Linked DNA regions of Homo sapiens: all the other regions are linked to region 2. The links are contacts of gene promoters, found by promoter capture Hi-C in blood cells and fetal thymus (Javierre and others, 2016). All regions are on one chromosome and are shown on one strand. Each heading gives the region's core, a stretch centred on a gene start or on the middle of the fragment in contact. The rest is flanking DNA. Distances are from core to core; before and after follow the strand shown.

Evidence for each region. Contacts are between HindIII fragments. The CHiCAGO score rates a contact against its expected background, and 5 or more counts as called.
Region 1: a contact is called between a fragment that was not itself captured here and the fragment with the promoter of ABCD2 in region 2, in 2 of 17 cell types (total CD4 T cells and naive CD4 T cells). The highest score is 8.6, in total CD4 T cells.
Region 3: a contact is called between a fragment that was not itself captured here and the fragment with the promoter of ABCD2 in region 2, in 1 of 17 cell types (total B cells). The highest score is 5.6, in total B cells.

What each region holds. Positions count from the first base shown.
Region 1 is chr12:40,142,214-40,146,815 of GRCh38, forward strand. LRRK2-DT (LRRK2 divergent transcript) reads right to left here. Exons shown (of 9, transcript NR_186757.1): 8 at 1,822-2,091; 9 at 1-421. Among named protein-coding and RNA genes, the nearest start is that of LINC02471, 12 kb to the right of the region's middle. The HindIII fragment of the contact is 1,238 bases long and covers 2,599-3,836 here.
Region 2 is chr12:39,617,832-39,621,992 of GRCh38, forward strand. It overlaps ABCD2 (ATP binding cassette subfamily D member 2), which reads right to left and starts at 1,972. Exons shown (of 10, transcript NM_005164.4): 1 at 846-1,972. The coding sequence starts at 1,784. RefSeq lists enhancers at 1,374-1,453, 1,764-2,283, 3,513-3,592. The HindIII fragment of the contact is 3,952 bases long and covers 1-3,253 here.
Region 3 is chr12:40,318,341-40,322,583 of GRCh38, forward strand. LRRK2 (leucine rich repeat kinase 2) reads left to right here. Exons shown (of 51, transcript NM_198578.4): 34 at 1,648-1,835; 35 at 2,694-2,848; 36 at 3,695-3,841; 37 at 3,979-4,170. Among named protein-coding and RNA genes, the nearest start is that of MUC19, 73 kb to the right of the region's middle. The HindIII fragment of the contact is 4,455 bases long and covers 1-3,758 here.

The sequences.
Region 1 (4,602 bases), core at 1,968-4,467, 530 kb after region 2:
AATAGGAATGTGGCAAGAAATAAGCTGTGGCCAGATCACAGAGAGCCCTTCCTATTCACAACTGAGTGAGTCACTGAGGGATAAAATAAAGGTTTGTACCTACTTGCTTACATTCCTCCAAATTCATCTAGGATATATTTCCATGAATTTTAACGCAGATTTCAAAAGTGTCTTTTAGATGAAATCTAGAAAATTCTTTAAAAATCCTTCAAAATAATTGAATATCTACTTCAAAAGATGCTCAGGTAGGGTGGGGGAAATTTCCAAGGACTGGATTTGATGTTTATCTTTGTGACTTCGGGTGCTTTTTATGGCAGTTTCATGATAAACATCTGCTTGAATCATCTTTGTTCTTATGAAATTTTGCTTATCCACCGGAGAAACACATACTGTTGGCCCAATTCCAAAACACAATTTCTTCCTAAGATTTTGAAAAAAGAACATAAGTTATTAAATGGCCAAGGTACTGAAAGCACATTAAAAATATCAGTGAAGGGCATGTCTAGGGTTGAGCATTTAGAAATACTTAGAAATTTCATACACAGTAGGACTAATGATTGCTGTAGTGATGGGGCCCTTAAATAATTTTTGAACACTGTTTTTGATCATATTTTCCATTGAACAAGAGGCTAATCTTTATAGCAAACAAAATAAAACAACAATAACAGCAGCAATAAAACAAACTATAGAAAAATAGATAATTCTGTATTATCCTTATACTTGAAAAGGTTTGCCAAAGCCTCAATGAAGTATATTTAAGTTGAGCTAAATATGCTTGGAAGGAAATCTCAATTACAGATGCCAAAAGTTAGAAAGAAGAAAAAGGAGTCATGAAAAAGGAAAAGACAAGTTGACATAAGGTGTCATTTTACATCTCTTTGAAACTATTCTTTTAGATCTGTTTTACTTTATCAGTGGCATACTGAGGTAAGAACTGGAAGCATCAAGTTTTCTTATTGTGGAGAAAAATCCCTTGAGAATACTGAATACCTAAGCAGAATGGTATCTGAAATAATAGGTTATAGATAGGCATACTGGGTCTCATATTCATCCACTCATCCATTTATTTATTCATTCATACATCTGGTTTAGGACATTTATGATGTATTTATTATGTGCCAGTTTCTGACTTGAGCAATTTGATATATCTTATGCTATTTTAAATGTTATTTTCTTTAAGGATCTATTAATATTTCATTCTTGTGTATAAAAATGAAATACCTAGTAATGGAACTAACAAAAGATGTATGTGACCTTTGCAAAGAAAACTGTAAAACATTTTGAAAGACAACTCCAAATAAAAACAGTAACACAGCATGGATTACAAATGGATTAAAAGATTCGACATACTAAAGATGTCAATTTTTCCCCAACTGGTACTTATACTCAGTGTAATTCCACTCAAAACCCGATGGATTTTCTTGTAAAGAATGTCAAGGTGATTCTAAGGATATAAAAGACCAAAGGTTTAAAAATAGGTAAGACTATAGCAAACTGTATGCCTTATCAAATATATATATATAATAATTAAATAATGAAGTATTCACTCAAGAATAAGCAACGTGACCTGTGAAACAGAATAAAGAGTCCAGAATCAAATCTACATATAATTGGAAACTTAATTTATGACACAGCTGATCTTGCTGATAACAGAAGATAGAAAGAAATTTTTAAATAGTGCTGAAATAACTGATCATGCATGTGAAAATGTCAAAACTGAAATGTTACCTTACATATATAATATATTATCTAATATATTTGGAGCAACAAGTCACTCCAAAAACTTAGGGCTCAAAACAATAATAAATATCTTTTTGACACCGTTTCTGTAGGTCAGAAATTCAGGAAGAGCTTCTCTGGCAGTTCTGTCTTGAGTTTCTAATGAGGTTGCAGTGGAGATGTCAGGTGCCACAGTCTTCTGAAGGCTTGACTGAGACTAGAGCATGCACTTCTCAGATGGCTTTTACCCACATGGCTGTTACCAGCCAGTTCCTCACTGCTTCTTGGCTCAGTTTCAGCTCCTAGCCACATGGATGGCTCCATAGTGCTGCTTGAATGTCCTCATGACACAGAAGTTGGCTTCCCTCATAGCTAGAAATAAAAAAGAGAGGACAGGTGGAAATTACAATGCCTTTTGTTATCTAGGCTCAGAGATCTAACACCATCATTTTTGCATATCTTATTTATTATACAGGTCAGCCTTATTCAGTAAGTGGGGATACCACAGACAAGGGTATGAATATCCGGGGCAGGGATTATTGGTGCCATCTTGGAAGCTGGTTATCACATAATTAATTATAGGTAGATGAGAGAATTCTATAACACTTTATAAGACAATCTATAAGAAAATCTTTATGATTTCAGAGCAAAGACTTCTCAAAGAAGCAAAATACTCAAATTACAAAGAAAAAGACTATTTAATTCAACTATATTAAGAATAAGTTCATCTATTTAACAACAAAACAGCATAAAGTAGGAATCAAATCACAAATACCATATTTGCAGCAAATATGATTTAAAATTGTTAATATCCAGACTATAGAAAGAAATTCAAACCAACACTAAAAAGATAAATGATACAAAAGAAAAATGAGCAAAAGCTTTAAGTTCCTAAAAGAAGAAAGAGGAATGGTCTATATTAAAAGACGGACAGTTTCATTAGTAACCAGGGAAATGCAAAGTAAAGCCAAACTGTGATACCATTAAACACCCATTTGATTTGCAAAACTTAAGAAATGTGAAACAAAACAAAACAAAACAAAAAGAAAAAGAGAAAAAAATTTTTAAATTAATTAATTAAAAAACATTCTGAGACTATGATGACGTGGAACAATGGAAAACCTTCCACATGGCCAGCATGAGTGTAAATGGTCCAACCGTTTTGAATCACAATTTGGCGTCATGTGCCATAGTTGAGTTTGTGCATATCCAATTATCCAGCAATTCCTCTTCTGGAGAAAATACTACATATGTTTGTAGAAACACTGTATTAACAAAAAACTAAAAATAACTCAAACAACCAACAAAAGAATGGACAAATTGTAGGATACAATGGAATATCATACAGCTGTGGAAGGGTGGGAGTAAGTCTGCAGGAATTTTTTTTTAATTTAGAGACGTTATAACATACTTAAATGCACATGAGAAGTAACCCATAAAGAGGGGGGAGGATAAAGACTCTAGGAGAGAGTAAAAAAATGAGTAGTGTGAGATTCCTGAAAGGCAAATGAAAAAGAATATGGAGACAAAGGAAAGGATTTCTTCATTACACATGATGCAGGAGGTAAGGATGGATATGCATTTATTCAGTAAATATTTACTATTATCCCTTCCATGCCAGGCTCTGTCGTTGCTACTAAGGATGCAAGTAGATTTGAAAATTGGGGACCGGGCATGGTGGCTCACGCCTGTAATCCCAGCACTTTGGGAGGACAAGGCAGGCAGATCACAAGGTGAGCAGATCGAGGCCATCCTGGCTAACAAGGTGAAACCCCGTCTCTACTAAAAATACAAAAAATTAGCTGGGCGTGGTGGCGGGCGCCTGTAGTCCCAGCTACTCCGGAGGCTGAGGCAGGAGAATGGTGTGAACCCGGGAGGCAGAGCTTGCAGTGAGCAGAGATGGCGCCACTGTACTCCAGCCTGGGAGACAAAGTGAGATTCCGTCTCAAACAAACAAACAAAAAAAAAAAAAAAAAAAAAAAGAAAAAGAAAAAGAAAAAAAAAGAAAAAAAGAAAAAAGAAAATTGGGTGATAGGAATATGATGGAATGTCTACTTAATGGCTCTCATGTTCCTTGTGAAGTAGGTGGTAAAGTCATCTCCTGGGGGTGAGGGGAAAGCTTGGGGCTTTAGGTTTAAGGAGAGTGAAGATTAAAAATTGTATACAGAACAGGAGAGCAAGTAGGGAAGGAAATAAAGCAGCACGGTTGGGCAGTGTTCAAAGCCTAGCTAAGGTTAGTGAATTTATGGACAGAATTCCCAGTTGTACCACTTTCTCCAGCTAGCTCAGTGCTAGCATATATATATATATATAAATATATATAAAATATATATAAATATATATAAATATATATAAAATATATATATAAATATATATATATAAATATATAAAATATATATATATATATAAATATATATATAAATATATATAAATATATATATAAATATATATATAAATATATATAAATATATATATAAATATATATAAATATATATATAAATATATATATATAAATATATATGAATATATATAAATGTATATATAAATACATATAAATATATATAAATATATATAAATATATATATAAATATATATAAATATATATAAGTATGTATATAAATATATAAATATATATAAGTATATATATAAATATATATATAAATATATATAAATATATATAAGTATATATATAAATATATATAAATATATATAAGTATATATATAAATATATATATAAATATATATATAAATATATATAAATATATATAAATATATATATAAATATATATATAAATATATATATAAATATATATATAAATATATATATAAATATATATATAAATATATATATATAAATATATATAAATATATACATATAAATAT
Region 2 (4,161 bases), core at 722-3,221:
ACCAAGTCATTTAAATTAAGATTGCATTGCCTTCAAAATTTCTGTCATTTCATATTCTGAAGTTACCTTCATGCACTGTTAGTATGTATAATTGGGCTAATTGTTTTAGGGATCTGCTTAATGTTGAAAATCTTTAATAATTAAAAACATTCTGAAACTCCTTTTGTACTCCTCATTTCTTCTCTAATTTCAGCTTTTTTTTTTTTTCAAAGCTAGACAAAATTTCATTTCACTTCCTCTTTTCATTTTGTCAAAGTACAGTGCTGAACATGAACTAAGAGTAGTAGAAATGCCATTTTGTGAGACACTCTCCTACGCTTCTTGGGAATGGGGATGCTCCATATTGATCAGACATGCAAAATTGTTAAAAATGTCTTCTATAAGAAACCCTGGCTCTTCCCCCCTCTTGGACAACAAAGGAACAACAAAGAATATCATTCTAAATTTTCCATTTCAGTGGAAATATGTTTAGTCTTAGTTTCTAAATATATATTTTCTTCTGGTAGGTGCTTTAGGATGACCTACCAAGTTGGGATTTAAGTTTTAAGAAAATGCGTTAGAAATAATTCTGAGCATATTTGAGTAACTGAGGCTAAGTAGACTTTTTTAGAGTGTTGCAAATTTTATTCTTCTGAAACTTTAGAAAAGTTTGCACCCTATAATCCTTTAACTGGTTACAGTTAAAAGGGGTAATGAAGCATATATTTTAATTCAGGTTTAGATGTCAGAGGAATCTAAGACACTAAAGAAGTGGGTCCATCGACAGGACAACAGATGGTATCTGGCACTGCAGTGGCAACTTGAACAGTTTCACATTTCACCCATCACCTTAATTTCTATCTTACCTTATGTCCTCTGTAAAAGGCAATTTCTTCTACATTGGCTATAATTCTCGAGTGCACATACCGCAAATAGCCTTTTCTATGTGCTTCCTCTGCCACCAGTTTGCCAAATTTGGGAGAACAGGCTTTTAACACTTTAGCAGTGGCATACACCACAAGTCCTGCTAGTAGGGTGGGCCCAATTGGGCTTGCTCCTCTGGATGTAGCAGTTTGAATGAGTGTATAGGAGGTCAGCATTACATCTAAAATAGGTTTGGTCAGATTGGAATACAAGTGAGCCACAGATTGGGAGAACATCATAATATCCTCCGTAAGAGATTGGTCAGGGTTTGCCAGCCTCCCATCCATATTGATCACTTTATAATAAGTCTGATTTGTAAAATAGGTTTCATAGGCGTGGTCTACTAGGCGAGTTCTGAAGGCCAAAGCCAATTTGCATTCCAGGTACCTTATTGCACTGTTGACGAAGGTAGCAGGGATGGCAATCATAAGCCACTTGATTAATTTGATGATGAAAGTCCGAGGCTTCTTTTCCACAATGCTTTTCACGATTTTTCCATCCAGACCAGCCACATAGATAGAAAGAAAGGTTCTTGAGATTAGAGCCACTGAGTGCAGGCAGAGCCACCCTGTTTCAGTGGTCACAAGTTTTGGAAACAAAATTTTCCGAAGTTCTAGTAGCTGTTTGAAGAAATCTGCATTCACTCCAGGCGAAGGTTTTTCACAAATGGTCTCGGTGCAATGCAGTATTTCTGTGTTCTCTGCAGCAGGGTAAGCTGCTGCTTTTTTCTTCCCGTGGCCAGATTGCTTTAAACGCTTGCCAATGATGGGATAGAGGGTTTTCAGAGCATATGCCGCAGCCACCAGGCAGGCAGCCCTCTTAGCAGCACTCGATCTGGTCCATTTCACTCGATCAGCTGCTGCATTTAGCATATGTGTCATTTTCCCAGTTACCCAAACCGGCTTCCAAAAGAATTCGTTTTAAAAGATCATGCTTCACAGAAATCCCCAGCAAATGTTTTAGAAAGTCCTACAGCGTCCCATAGTCTGCAGCGTTTCTCTTCCACTGTTGTGTTTTTAATTTTGTTCTGCTGTGACAGATGCAGCAGAGCTCAGACTCCGCTGCATCTACCGGGAATGATTCTCTCAGAAGCTCAAGCTGCACCAAGCTCCTCCCTCCCAGGCCCCTCATTGGCTGTGAGGGCGGTGGGACCTTGGAATCCTCGCAGCTTCCCTTTGAACCTTGAAAATGAGGAGAGAGCAAAGCGAATTACATCCTTCCTTAAACAGGAGTTCAGAGAGTTAAAATGTCTATTTTTGGAGAGGTCGAATCAGGCCATCTGCTGGCGAACAAAACCGGCTCTAGCTACTGAGCATGCTCAGTGTCACTTAGAAACCCACAGAAGTTTCAGAATATACATCACTTCGGTAAGATTTCAGTAGATACCGCAAACAGAAGAGCAAGCAGAAAGGGAGATTTCCAAGCGAACAAAACCGGCCCTAGCTACTGAGCATGCTCAATGTCACTTAGAAACCCGCAGAAGTTTCAGAATATACATCACTTCGGTAAGATTTCAGCAGCTACCGCAAACAGAAGAGCAAGCAGAAAGGGAGATTTGCAAGAGTTTTAATGAGACGAGGAGGGAGAAGGAACCACGAAAATGAGGGAGGAGGGACAAGAGGATCAACATAAAATGAATATGAAAAGGATATGGAATGAATCTGAAACGGATCAGAAAAGAAAGTGACAAGTGGGAGGGACACCGGAGAATGCCAAATATCAAATACACTTGGATCTGTTTTTCACAGATCCCCCCGGCTTTTTTGGGGGTCTGATTTCACAAAAGGTCTCAGAACCTAATAGACAAGTTGTAATCGAGGGTTTCCCTTGTAAATAAATAGGATAAAAGTCTTCCGTGTTACAGAAAATAATTATTTGCTATGCCTCTAGCCATTCTCCCTTTTTCCTCTGCATCCTACTTGTCCTTATGCTAAAAATCTTCCAGCCCCATAACTGGAGATCTGATGTACTCATATTTATTTACAAGGTGACGACTATTAAATAAATGAGAGCAATGTTTCATGTTTACTACTCCCATGTGTTAGGTAGTTTTTACTTGGAGTGGGGTAGCACTTATAGTGAAAGTTTAACCATTTGGGAATTCAGCTGGTGTTGGATGGTGGAAATAGCTTCTCTAGGACCTTACTTCATTTTTCAAGAATGCTTTGTCTTTTGCAGGTTTCTGCTTTGTTTGTTTTGTTTAGCTGTAGAGATAATCTACTGGCTACTTCCTATTTCCATTTGGTTATTTGATAAAAACTAAGAGTCTTAAAATTCTTCACATCCATAATGGAGGATTTAAATTGTTCAACAGTCAAGGACAATTCTGCATATTTTTGAAAATGTAAAAAGCTTTTTTTTTTTTTTTTTTTTTTTTTTTTATGAGACAGAGTCTCTCTCTGTCACCCAGGCTGGAGTGCAGTGGCACGATCTCAGCTCACTGCAGCCTCCGCCTCCCAGGTTGGTGCCTCAGCAGCCCGAGTAGCTGGGATTACGAGGGTGCGCCTACCATACTTGGCTAATTTCTGTAGTTTTAGTAGAGATGGGTTTTGCCATGTTTGCCAGGCTGGTCTCAACCTCCTGGCCTCAAGTGATCCACCTGCCTTAGCCTCCCAAAGTGCTCGGATTATAGACGTGGGCCACCACGCCCAGCCAAGAGCATTTTTTAAGTCAGGGCTGAGTATATTTTTGGATATGGAAAAACCATTTTTTTTGCTCTTCACTGTCCCCGCCCCCCATCTCATTAAAATTCTCGGAAATCTCCCTTTCTGCTTGCTCTTCTGCTTGTGGTATCTACTGAAATCTTACAAAAGTGATATATATTCTGAAACTTCTGGGGATTTCTAAGTGACACTGAGTATGCTCAGTAGCTACAGCCAGTTTTGTTCACCAGCAGCTGGCCCCCAACATACATACACATTTCCAGTCAATTAAAAGCTTAGGAAAATATGCATCAAGCTAGAACAGAAGTTGGCAAATTACAACTGGTGGGCCAAATCTAGCCTGCCACTTAATTTTATATGACCCTTAAGCTAGGAATGATTTTTACATTTTTAAAGTGGTTGAAAATACTTCAAAACAAGAATATTTTGTCCTGTGAAAATTATATAAAATTCTCATTTTTGTGTTTATAAATAAAGTTTTATTGGAAAACAGTCACACCCATTCATTTACTCTCTGTCTATGGCTTCTTTCAAGCCACAGTGGTGGATGCAACAAAGACTAAAATATGTACTATTTGGCCCTTTATAGAAGTTT
Region 3 (4,243 bases), core at 281-2,780, 700 kb after region 2:
GGAAAATCAAGCACAAACTCTTTAAAAAATAAGTGTATCTTAGTAAAATAGATTAGAATAACTAGATAATAATGGCTAACATACATGAGGTTAATATGTGCTTTTCAAAGATTAGCTCATGTAATTCTCACAGCAACCTTTCCAAATGGTACTTTATTAGCCCCTATGATACAGATGAAGAAATTGATTGACAGAGAGGTTGAATAATTTATCCAACGGTACACATTCAGGAAGAGGTAGAGTTAGAATTTCAAACCAAGTAGTTTGACTCCAGGGCCTATGAGTTTATACATTCATAGGGCTGATATTCAAATGAGAGAAGAGAAGTAATAAATAAACATATAATATGTTGAGTGGTACAGAGTGCTACAAAGAAAATATGAAGTGCAGTTGGAGATGAATTGTCAAAAAAGGTCTTAGCACTTAAAAAACACTAAAACAGCAAACAATTCTCTTTACCACCTAAACTGTAAGAGCGATCTGGAATTGCTATAAAGTACACAACATGGGAGAAGTCTTAAACAACAGTTTTTATTATTTATAGGCCCATTGCACACTGTCATTAAATACCAATATGTTCAATCAACCATGCATTCATTGATTCAATAAATACTGTACATACAAAATAGAAATACAGAAATGGGTAAGACAAGTCCTTGGGCCTAAGGACTTTATAACCTGGTATTTCACTCAACTACATGATAGCATAAATAATGTTTGCTTCTGTTTAAGTATTCCTTAAACATTATAGATCTCCCAAAGAAAATTAAATACAAACCTCTTTTTAAAGTGAATTTGACAAAGCAAAATAAATTGGAATATATAGATAAATATGCTAAAATTTGTCATATGTACTTTGCGTACTTTACATGTGTTATTTCATTCTCAGGGCAATCTAAGACAGTCACTTTTATTATCTCATTTTATAGAGAAGAAAGCTGTGCAGTAAAGAAATCAAATACCTTTCCCAAGGTTACAGAGCTAGTAGTAGAGCCTGGATTTGAATCTGGGTTCTGACTGATTTTTAACTGCCATGACAAGGATCAAAGCTCAAAGTGTGATCTCTGTGTTAGAAACATCGGGGTTGCTCTTTAAAAAAGCCGATTCTCAGGCCTCAACCCAGACCTACTGACCCAGACACTGCAAGTAGAATCCATCAAAATGCAGTAGTTACTTTGAGAATCATGAAACTCTGCTACACAGTCTGTCTTCCTATTCATGGAAGTCCTCTCCTAGTATATAAATGTGAAGTAATATTTCTATTTCAAACCTGTATTGATAACTGTCTGGAAGATAATTTTCCTGGGAATATATTATTGATGAGACTGCAAAACAGATGTGAGGTATTGGATTGATCTTTCCATTGTAGCTAGGGAAATACTGATGTTCATTGTTTCAGTGAAGTTCAATGATTTCCTATCCGAATTAACTCCCTTAATTTAACAATTTTTTTTTTTTTTTTGAGAGTGAATGCCCCTCTGGGCTTCTAGGCCACATGGTTGCTAGAGAAATTAGGTACTGTGTTGCACTTGAAAACACTAAAATCTTTCTGACTACTTTCACTGAGCAAAGAGACATAAAATGCTTTAAATTTGCAACATTTCAGAAAATAAATTTTAGTGATTATTTATGACTCGAATCTTTCAGATTTTGACAGTGAAAGTGGAAGGTTGTCCAAAACACCCTAAGGGCATTATTTCGCGTAGAGATGTGGAAAAATTTCTTTCAAAAAAAAGGAAATTTCCAAAGAACTACATGTCACAGTATTTTAAGCTCCTAGAAAAATTCCAGATTGCTTTGCCAATAGGAGAAGAATATTTGCTGGTTCCAAGCAGGTAAAGAAAACCTTAAAAAATTAATTGCTACATGGAAATTCACTATCTATTCTTTTAATTGTCAAACTAACTGTAGTCTATAATAGATGTATTAAATAAATAAATATATTTTGCTTCTAGTGTAAACCTCCTACTGACATGTATCATTTATTTTGGAATAAAACATTGCATCTGACACTTTAACAATATAGTAAATCACTTACTTTATGTGTATAGTTACTAGTTGGCTTATCACTGTTGAAATTATTTAAGAAAGGTAAATAGTGGAGATTAATGTGTGTGTGTGTCTGTGTTTGTGTATGTGTGTGTTCTTAAACAACACTGAGAGAGTTTATTAAGCAAGTTCTGAGAAGATAGTGAGTTTTCAACAGAATTTTAAAAGCATTTATGGCATCACAATGGATGCCTATGTTTTAGCCTATACTATGGAAATTTTTCCTACTGCTCTAAGCAACTGGGAAATTTATAAAGTAATATGATGTTGAAATGTGCAAATTACATTGATTGATGGATGCAGCCAATTTTAAAAATAAATATACACTTTTTTTCTAGGACATGTATTTTTCAGGATTTATATAAGATTACATTTGTCTATGCATAACTAATTGTAATAATTTATGTATTAGTGCACAGGGATTACCGAAAATATTTCATGCATCTACATCTGAGCATGCATTTGAATTGGTTATTGACCACTGAATTTTTGGTGTAGGAAAAATATGTAGTGAAACAATGTTACAAAAAGATTACAATTGTTTGGAATGATTACCTTCATTGACTTTAAGCAGTAAAATCATTTGCTCAACAAGGTTGGGTGTTTTGTGAGGCTGTATAACCATAGTGTCCTTTTGCCTTTAGTTTGTCTGACCACAGGCCTGTGATAGAGCTTCCCCATTGTGAGAACTCTGAAATTATCATCCGACTATATGAAATGCCTTATTTTCCAATGGGATTTTGGTCAAGATTAATCAATCGATTACTTGAGATTTCACCTTACATGCTTTCAGGGAGAGGTAAGTATCTAATGAAGACTTATTAGATTTTTAGAGACTATTAATTTAGACTTATTAATTTTTAGAGAAATTAGGGAGATGGCATATGAAAAGTAATATGCCATTTTCTCAGAGTTTACTTGTTTGGAAGGCAGCTGAAGAATTAGAAAATAAGCTCATAAAACCTTGGAGTAGGCAATCTAAAGACACACAAGCACATATAACCTCATCTAATTTGTCAGGAAGAAAATTCCTTAGGTGCTCACTCAGATCTTGACTGTGATTACATTGTAGGGACTGTAATTATCTCTTTTCTGTTGCACAGCCACTAAGACATTTACAAAAAAAGAGCAAATCCGGTGTTTATAATGCTAACTCTTTCTTCTAAAATAAATAGAGACATTTTGGTACTCCAAAGGGAAAATATCATTTTGGGGATTAAAATTAGCTTTACACAGGTGTTACTGGTTTCCAAAATAAACCTTACCTTGATTGGAATTAATCAACATATAGGTAGTTACATTGCATTAAAAAGTTCAGAAAGTTTTGCGTTTAGCATGATCAAAAACTTCTTTTTAAAAATTATGAGGATTTATTTATGATTTTCTTTCTTCATCTGTCGAGCATATTAAACTGCTTAACAGCATCAACCTGAAATGGATCTTAATGTGCAGGGGATTTAACTCTTTTTATTGTAAAGTTGTGGATAAAATATTTAATAGATATGGATGAGGACTCATATCAGTAACAACCCAATACTTTATTTCAAAATGAATAGATCTGTATTACAATCACTTGTGTTGTGTGCAGTAGATTTTTTCCCTTTAACTTAGGAAGCAGTTAATAATTAATGGCTCCATTTTTTAGAACGAGCACTTCGCCCAAACAGAATGTATTGGCGACAAGGCATTTACTTAAATTGGTCTCCTGAAGCTTATTGTCTGGTAGGATCTGAAGTCTTAGACAATCATCCAGAGAGTTTCTTAAAAATTACAGTTCCTTCTTGTAGAAAAGGTAAGGAAATCAATTTGAATGTTTTCAATTGCAACACTAAAGAAATTTAAACTTAAAAAAAAAAAAAACTTTACCTTAAAGCTTTGCGACAGTATGAGGTTTAGACAAGGTGTTGAGCTCTGTTTTGAATCATGTAGGCTGTATTCTTTTGGGCCAAGTTGTGGACCACATTGATTCTCTCATGGAAGAATGGTTTCCTGGGTTGCTGGAGATTGATATTTGTGGTGAAGGAGAAACTCTGTTGAAGAAATGGGCATTATATAGTTTTAATGATGGTGAAGAACATCAAAAAATCTTACTTGATGACTTGATGAAGAAAGCAGAGGAAGGTATGTTTTGATACAACTTACAAATGCTTTTAAGTGATCCTTCAATACTTATGAAGTGACTTTTAATAAATGT